Regions from separate parts of the Homo sapiens genome. Here region 1 is linked to region 2. Evidence: promoter capture Hi-C in human tissues and cell types (Jung and others, 2019). All regions are on one chromosome and are shown on one strand. The core of a region is centred on a gene start or on the middle of the fragment in contact, and the rest is flanking DNA. Distances in the headings are between cores, read along the strand shown.

Evidence for each region. The method cuts DNA at HindIII sites, captures the fragments that hold promoters and counts their contacts. A contact is called where the count stands out against the background at its distance.
Region 1: a fragment that was not itself captured here is called in contact with the fragment with the promoter of CREBL2 in region 2 in 1 of the 25 tissues and cell types used here (mesenchymal stem cells).

What each region holds. Positions count from the first base shown.
Region 1 is chr12:12,078,209-12,082,632 of GRCh38, forward strand. It overlaps BCL2L14 (BCL2 like 14), which reads left to right. Exons shown (of 6, transcript NM_138723.2): 2 at 1,091-1,530. The coding sequence starts at 1,098. Among named protein-coding and RNA genes, the nearest start is that of BCL2L14, 9.5 kb to the left of the region's middle. RefSeq lists a silencer at 3,627-3,921. The HindIII fragment of the contact is 3,043 bases long and covers 1,281-4,323 here.
Region 2 is chr12:12,608,932-12,613,195 of GRCh38, forward strand. CREBL2 (cAMP responsive element binding protein like 2) reads left to right here and starts at 2,945. Exons shown (of 4, transcript NM_001310.4): 1 at 2,945-3,256. The coding sequence starts at 3,242. RefSeq lists enhancers at 2,314-3,065, 2,659-2,738, 2,789-2,838 and a silencer at 2,999-3,298. The HindIII fragment of the contact is 23,854 bases long and covers 1-4,264 here.

The sequences.
Region 1 (4,424 bases), core at 1,552-4,051, 530 kb before region 2:
TTTCAGATGAAATCTTACATGGCATACCAAATATAGCAAGAAAAAAGAAAGAGAGAGAGAGAGGAGAGAGAAGCCGGGACAAGCTAAAGCAGAGGGTAGAGGGAGAAGGAACCGAGGAAGGGAAGGGTCAGGTCCCAGGCATTTCTCTTCCCTGAATTGGCCTCCCTCTTTTGCCACCTCCCCAGCAAGACCTTTAACTCCACAGTCCACAGCTCATTTTGAAATGTACTGATCAACGTGAGAAAATGCGAAGCTTCAGCCTGATAGTCAAAGACCACCATAATCTGGACCCAAGTGCTAGTTCACTTATTTTCCCTCCACTATTTTCAAGCCCTGGCTATTTGCAAACTGCATACGTATGCTGTCCCAGTTCTCTCACCACTCTTCAAACACATTCTGAATTCACCTATAATCTCCCCTCTGCCCGCCCTGTTGTAGCCCCAATATCCACCCACCTGTCTAACTCCTTCTAGCTTTCCAAAAGCTTTCACTTGCCTCTTTCTTTGAAGCTCACCTATCCCTGCCTTCTAACCTGGCTATCTGCATCTCTGTTAGACCTCTTACTTAGTTCATTAGTTCATTCTCTCTCTGTTGTTTTTTGTTTTTTGAGACGGAGTCTCACTCTGTCGCCAGGCTGGAGTGCAGTGGCGCAATCTCAGCTCACTACAACCCCCGACTCCTGGGTTCAAGCGATTCTTCTGCCGCAGCCTCCCAAGTAGCCGGGTCTACAGGCGTGCGCCACCATGCCTGGCTAATTTTTGTATCTTTAGTAGAGACGGGCTTTCACTGTATAGGCCAGGCTGGTCTTGAACTCCTGACCTCATGATCTGCCCGCCTTGGCCTCCCAAAGTTTTGGGATTACAGGCGTGAGCCACCGCACCCGGCAGTTCATTTTCTTTATGTGGAGTTATCTATGGCCATGTCTCTCTTCCCACCCTAGTAAGACTGTGGCTTTTCCCTCTCTACCCTCCAGCACAAACACAATAGATGTTCAATAAATGTTTCCTGAGTTTTCACCCCTGTCTCTCCTAACCTGCAAAGGGTAAGTGGCCCTGCATAGAAGGGCACAGTGTGGACTTTGTTGTTACAGGCCCAACATGTGTAGCACCAGTGGGTGTGACCTGGAAGAAATCCCCCTAGATGATGATGACCTAAACACCATAGAATTCAAAATCCTCGCCTACTACACCAGACATCATGTCTTCAAGAGCACCCCTGCTCTCTTCTCACCAAAGCTGCTGAGAACAAGAAGTTTGTCCCAGAGGGGCCTGGGGAATTGTTCAGCAAATGAGTCATGGACAGAGGTGTCATGGCCTTGCAGAAATTCCCAATCCAGTGAGAAGGCCATAAACCTTGGCAAGAAAAAGTCTTCTTGGAAAGCATTCTTTGGAGTAGTGGAGAAGGAAGATTCGCAGAGCACGCCTGCCAAGGTCTCTGCTCAGGGTCAAAGGACGTTGGAATACCAAGATTCGCACAGCCAGCAGTGGTCCAGGTGTCTTTCTAACGTGGAGCAGTGCTTGGAGCATGAAGGTAGGCATCTGGGATTTCTTTCTCTCCCGCTTCCTGGTTTTTCCCTTCTTTGTGTCCAGAGTGGTACATCTCTTCTCATGTTGTAAAGTGGCTTTAGAGAAGGCATGCGTTGTGCCTCAGCTTTCCAACTTATTAGTGTTCAATCATAATTGCCCTGCTTTTCTCAAGACTAAAAGGAGTTGCTGCCTGGGCGCGGTGGCTCACGCCTGTAATCCCAGCACTCTGGGAGGCCAAGGCGGGTGGATCATGAGGTCAGGAGATTGAGACCATCCTGGCTAACACGGTAAAACCCCGTCTCCACTAAAAAATACAAAAAATTAGCCGGGCGTGTTGGCGGGTGCCTGTAGTCCCAGCTACTCGGGAGGCTGAGGCAGGAGAATGGCGTGAACCCAGCAGGCGGAGCTTGCAGTGAGCCAAGATGGCATCACTGCACTCCAGCTTGGGTGACAGAGTGAGACTCCGTCAAAAAAAAAAAAATGACTAAAAGGAAATGATGGAAGTTAAGGGTGCTGGGACTGGTTTTCTTTCTCCACTGTCTATAAATAAGCTTGTTTCCCAAATTCCTAGTCCTCTGTACCAGACACCAATATAAAAGAAGGAGGCTAGGCGCAGTGGCTCATGCCTGTAATTCCAGCACTTTGGAAGGTTGAGGTGGGCAGATCATAAGGTCAGGAGTTCAAGACTAGCCTGGCCAACATAGTGAAAACCCGTCTCTACTAAAGATACAAAAAATTAGCCGGGCATGGTGGCGCATGCTTGTATTCCCAGCTACTCGGGAGGCTGGGGCAAGAGAATCGCTTGAACCTGGGAGGCGGAGGTTGCAGTGAGCCGAGATTGCATCACTGCACTCCAGCCTGAGCTACAGGGTAAGACTTTGTCTCAAAAAAAAAAAAAAAAAAGAACGAGCCCTAACCAGGGGCTTGCTTGGGCTGCCTGGGCCGCTGCTCTTCCTAAGTCAACTCATTCGCTCAGGGCCTCTGTGTTTCCATCTGTACATTGGGTACCCCACTCTCTCCACCTCGTATGGTTGATGGGAAGATCAGAGAGCAAGAGTAAAAGGACTCTTGACAAAGTACAAACCATCCTACAAAAACAACTGAGAAGCATTTAGACAAAATCTTCCCTCAGTTGGACAAAATTAATTGTACTTAATGAAACATTTTCACCAGGCACTGAGGCTCATACCTGTAATCCCAGCACTTTGGGAGGCCAAGGTGGGTGGATCGGTTGAGCTCAGGAGTTCAAGACCAGCCTTAGCAACATGGCAAAACCCTGTCTCTACCAAAAAATACAAAAAAATTAGTCAGACATGGTGGTGCACGCCTGTGGTCCTGGCTACTCGGGAGGCTGAGGTGGGAGGATGGCTTGAGCCTGGGAAGTAGAGGTTGCAGTGAGCCAAGATGATGCCACTGCACTCCAGCCTGGGTGACAGAGTGAGAGCCCATCACGTCGATACTCTCAGCACTGTGGGAAACCAAGGCAGGAGGATCACTTGACACCAAGAGTTTGAGATCAGCCTGGCATCATAGCAAGACCCTGTCTCCATTAAAAAATTAAAATAAAAAAATTAGCGAGGCATGGTGGCACATGCCTGTTGTCCCAGCTACTATGGAGGCTGAGGTGGAAGGATCACTTGAGCTCAGGAGGTCAAGGCTGCAGTGAGCGAAGATCACATCACTGCACCCCAGCTCTGGGTGACATAATGAGACTCTGTCTCCAAAAAAAAAAAAAAAAAGACAGTTGCCCTTCATGCGCACACCTTGGCATAAGCATCTTCTTCCCCTTCAACAAAGCCCAGTGCCCAAAGCCCAGATTTTTTTTTTTTTTTTAAGGTGTTTTAGATGGAGTCTTGCTCTGTCGCCCAGGCTGGAGTGCTGTGGTGTAATCTCGGCTCACTGCAAGCTCCGCCTCCCAGGTTCAAGCAATTCTCCTGCCTCAGCCTCCTGAGTAGCTGGGATCACAGGCGCGCACCACCAGGCCTGGCTAATTTTTGTATTTTTAGTAGAGACAGCGTTTCACCATGTTGGTCAGGCTGGCCTCGAACTCCTGACCTCGTGATCTGCCCACCTTGGGCTCCCGAAGTGCTGGGATTACAAGTGTGAGCCACTGCACCCAGCCGCAAAGCCAGATTTTAAAAGAAAGGCCCCCTCCTGCTGAGTTTCATTGGCCTGGGTAACTTGTCAATAATTAGTCAAGAGGTGGCAGTAATGTCTCAGTTTTTAAATGTGACAGTCCTGGCTTGCTTGGAGAATCAGCCCACTCATAGACAGCTTTAGATCACTCACTATGATCAAGGAAACTCCCTTTTCCCATTAGAGTTTCAGATGTTTAGAACAGTGGGAGTTATGGTCAGGATCATCTGAGGGAACCTCATGGCACAGACAGGATGAGGAAATGGGAGTCCCACAAAAAGGGCTTACCAAGGAAACATCCAGGAAGTAGCAGAGCCTGGACTCACCAGAAGTCCAGGCCTCTCCCTAGACTTGTTTCATTTTTACAGCAAGGCATCTGCTCTCTGAACTCTGCCCAGCTAGGGCAGGTCTAGGGCAAGAGGGAGCGGCCCCCTGTGGTCCTTCCCTCCACATCTGCCTCCCCACCCCTCAGCTGCCCTCACCCAGCCATGGCTTCTTCTGCCGGGGGTGGCATCTGGGCTCTGGGGCAAAGAACAGTTTGGAGGCACCTAAATAGGCTTTTCTACTTGGCCTGTACTGTGGACTTTGCCAGCAGACAGAGAAAGCTTTTACAGACCTTAGTCTTCTGGTTTTTCCTGAGATAAATTGCATTCTGTATTTCAGTATTTACTGGAGTGTCATTTGACATTTTTTTTATTTTCTAAAATTTCAAGAGAAGCTTTTATTTCTTTTTTCAGTAGGGAAAGAAAACTTTTATGTGAG
Region 2 (4,264 bases), core at 1,695-4,194:
GGAGGGAGTGAAGAGAGGAGAAATGTATGTGTTTTTTAAAGGAATTGCATGCCTTGGAGGTTCCTTTTGAGAAGATGATATAGGAAAAAAAGATTGAGAACCGTAGATATAGAACACATCCAGGATGCTGAGAGCACATTCTTCCCCTAACCATTTAAAAAACACTTTGCTGTGTTTGCTCTTCTAATCAGTCTGATGCGCAGCTTTCCCTGCCCACCATAAGTTTTACATCCTCTTACCTTCAACTTATCACCACATAGATATTAAACTTGATCTGTATTATTTTTTACCAGATGCTTTGTTTAGTGAATGGTCTAAGTTTTCTGTATGTCACCTCCTGGATTATAAAGTCCTTGAGGATTTACACTGTAATTTTAGAAGTTAATACACCTACTAGGTGCAGTGGCTCATGCCTGTAATTCCAGCACTTTGGGAGGCCGAGGCGGGCGGATCACGAGGTCAGGAGATAGAGACCATCCTAGATAACACGGTGAAACCCAGTCTGTACTAAAAATACAAAAATTAGCTGGGCGTGGTGGTGGGCGCCTGTAGTCCCAGCTACTCGGGAGGCTGAGGCAGGAGAATGGCATGAACCTGGGAGGCAGAGGCTGTAATGAGCCGAGATTGCACCACTGCACTCCAGCCTGGGTGACAGAGCGAAACTCTGTCTCAAAAAAAAAAAAAAAAGTTGCATGGGACACACTTTCCTAAAAGAGTATTTGCGGTTTATCTGAAATTCGAATGTAATTGAGTATTCTGTGTCTATATTGCTAAATCTGAGAACTCTACCTCAGTTGGATTTTGCAAGGGTTGAGAAAGCACTTTGTGAGTCTTTGAAAAGGTGTGAGCCAAAGGGCTCTTCAGGAGCAGCATTGACAAATATGCAATCTTTGTCAAGTTCTCAAAGGCCCGAGGTAGGCCAAAACAAAAACAACAGTAAAAACAAGCTCACTGACTTTATTAAATGAGGACACAGCCAGTTATTTTTAAAATAACTTTATTGAGATATAATCCACTCATTTAAAGTGGTTTAACTACAGTTAAACTACAATTTAGTGGTTTTTAATATATTCACAGGATGTGCAACCATCACCAAAATCAATTTTAGATAATTTTCTTTTCTTCTTTTTTTTTTTTTTTTTTTTTGAGTCGGAGTTTCGCTCTTGTTGCTCAGGCTGGAGTGCAATGGCACGGTCTCAACTCACTGCAACCTCCGCCTCCTGGGTTTAAGCCATTCTCCTGCCTCAGCCTCCCACGTAGCTGGGATTACAGGTATGCTCTCCCAGGCCTGGCCAACTTTGTATTTTTAGTAGAGATGGGTTTCTCCATGTTGGTCAGGCTGGTCTCGAACTCCTGACCTCAGGTGATCAGCCCACCTCGGCCTCCCAAAGTGCTGGGATTACAGGCGTGAGCCACCATGCCCGGCTGAATTTTAGATCATTTTCATCACCTCAAAAAGAAACCCAGTACTCATTAACCGTCACTCTCCTTTCCAGGATCCCTCCATCCCTGCCATTCTTCAACCCTAGCCCTTGGCAACCACTAATGGATTTTTTGGTCTATTTAGATGTGCCTGTTCCAGACACTTCATTATAAATGGAATCATACAATATGTGGCCTATTGTGTCTGGCTTTTTTCACTTCACATAAAGTTTTCAAGGTTCAGACATATTGAAGTGTGTATATCCCTTCATTTTTTTTCATTGCTGAATAATATTTCTTTCCTTTTTTTTTGAGACAGAGTCTTGCTCTGTTGCCCAGGCTGGAGTGCCGTGATCACAGCTCACTTCAGCCTCCAACTCCAGGGCTCAAACGATCCTCCCACCTGGGCCTCCCGAGTGGCTAGGACTACAAGCACCACCACCACACCCAAGTAATTTTTAAATTTTTTGTAACACACCCAACTAATTTTTAATTTTTTTTGTAGAGACTGCATCTTACTATATGGGTCTTCTTCCTTCTTCTTTCTTCTTCCTTCTTCTCCTTCTTCTTCCTTCATCGTTCTTCTTCCTTCTTTCATTCTTCTTCTTCTTTTTTTTTTTTTTAAATACAGTGTCTGGCTCTGTCGCCCAGGCTGGAGTGCAGTGGTACAATCTTGGCTTATTGCAGCCTCTGCCTCCCAGGCCCAAGTGATCCTCTCATGTCAGCCTCCCCAGTAACTGGGATTACAGGCATGTGCCACCACACTCGACTAATTTTTGTATTTTTTTGTAGAGACAGGTTTTGCTATGTTGCCCAGGCTGGTCTCGAACTCTTGGGCTAAAGCAATCCTCCCGCCTCGGCCTCCCAACGTGCTGGGATTACAGGCGTGACCCACCACCCCTGGCCAGTATTTCTTAATTTGTATAGTCCACACTGGTTTATCCATTCATCCAGTAAAGGACATTTGCGTTGTTTCCACTTTTTGACTATTATGAATAATGCTGCTAGGAAAGAACATTTATATACAAGTTTTTGTGTAGTCACTCGTTTTAATTTCTCTTGGGTATGGGAGTGGCCAATATTCTGAAGAACTGCCAAATTTCTTCCCAAAGTAGCTGCACTATTTTACATACTTAGTTTTTGTTTTTCGTTTTTTTTTAAATAAAGAACCTTTAGGGTTTCCTCAGCGTCCCAGAGGAGGGCCTGCTTCCGGCACCCCGCCTTCAGGGCTGCCTCCGCAGAGCACCAAACTCCCGTCCCCGCCATTCCAGGCCCTGGCACTTAGGAGCCAAAACCTCAGGTCAGGCGCACTTTGGGCCTCCAGCCCAGCCCCGCCTCCTCAGCGCTAGCTAGTAGGCAAAAGGAAAACAGCTGCCCCTTAATGAGGCTATGTGGACATCGTAGTTTTTTTTCCAGTCAGTAGCGCAGAGACTGTGATAAGAAAAATCACAATTCCCAGAATGCCGCGGTGCTACGGCAGCCGAAGGGGCCATTCCGTGTGCAGCGCTCCCGCCCACCCTCCGGTCTCGGCGGCTCTCCAGAGCGTCTGTAAACACCCAGAGACTGTCATGGAGGGGGAGGAGGAGGCGGCGGCGGCGAAGGGAGGCGTTTGGGGCCGCCTCCAGGGTCCGCTCTGCCATTCCTGAACTGGTCCCTCGTCCCCGTGACTCTGGCATCAGGGAAGCGAACTGTTAGGCGAGAGGAGGAGGCAGCCAGAACCATATCCCCTTCTTCCTCGGGGCGGGGGCCGGGCCAGGCCGGCTGAGCCGGGGGAGGGCTCCGGGAGGGAGTGCCTGGCCAGGCCGGCCTGTCTGCCGCGATGGATGACAGTAAGGTAAGTCTTGTGGTTTGCACGCGCCGCCGCCTTCTTGTCGCTCAATGCTAGTCCCGCGGCTGAACCTCCGCTATGTAGTCCACGCCAACACCCAAGAGACACCTGCCTAAAACATCCCTGCGCCTCTCCAGTCCACTGCCCGATGGTACCCAGCCAGGAAATCAGGGAACACCGGGGCTGCGTTTTTCCAGGAAGGGCCCTCTCTGGAAATTTTTCACTCCCAGGGCGTTTGCTAGCTTTCCAGGTAGTGCAACCCCTAGTCCTTAACTTGCCTGTCGAGATAAGAAACTACTGTACTTTTTCTTCTTGCACTTTTTTGCTGCCTCCTCTCTCCAGTTTGGAGACTTTAGTGCACGCTGAACCAGCCTTATTCCCCTTGACGATTCCCCTTCTCTCAGGCTCCCTTACTCAATGCCCCATTCATATAATCAGTTCACTCCCCCTCTGAGCTATTTCCTGTGGTTGGTTGGAACACCGCTAAGCTCCTGTTGCTATTTGGCCAGTGTGGAGTTTAACCTCCACTAGAAAGCCTTCTCTAAAAAAATACTGATTTTCCTCTTGTTAACTTTAATAGCCCATCACCATCCAATTTCCCTGTCCAAATCACTTACTTTATGATTATAAAATAATAGATAATGTTCATTATTGGTTAATCCAAATAGTTTATCTATGTATAGCCTTTTTGTCTTTATTTATTAATTGAGACGGAGTTTCGCTCTTGTCGCCCAGGCTGGAGTGCAATGGCGCGATCTCGGCTCACCACAACCTCCGCCTCCCGGGTTCAAGCGATTCTCCTGCCTCAGCCTCCCGAGCAGCTGGGATTACAGGCATGCACCACCATGCCCGGCTAATTTTGTATTTTTGGTAGAGATGGGGTTTCTCCATGTTGGTCAGGCTGGTCTCGAACTCCCAATCTTAGGTGTCCGCTCGCCTCGGCCTCCCAAAGTGCTGGGATTACAGGCGTGAGCCACCGCGCCTGGCCGCCTTTCTCTCTTTACATCTACCCAC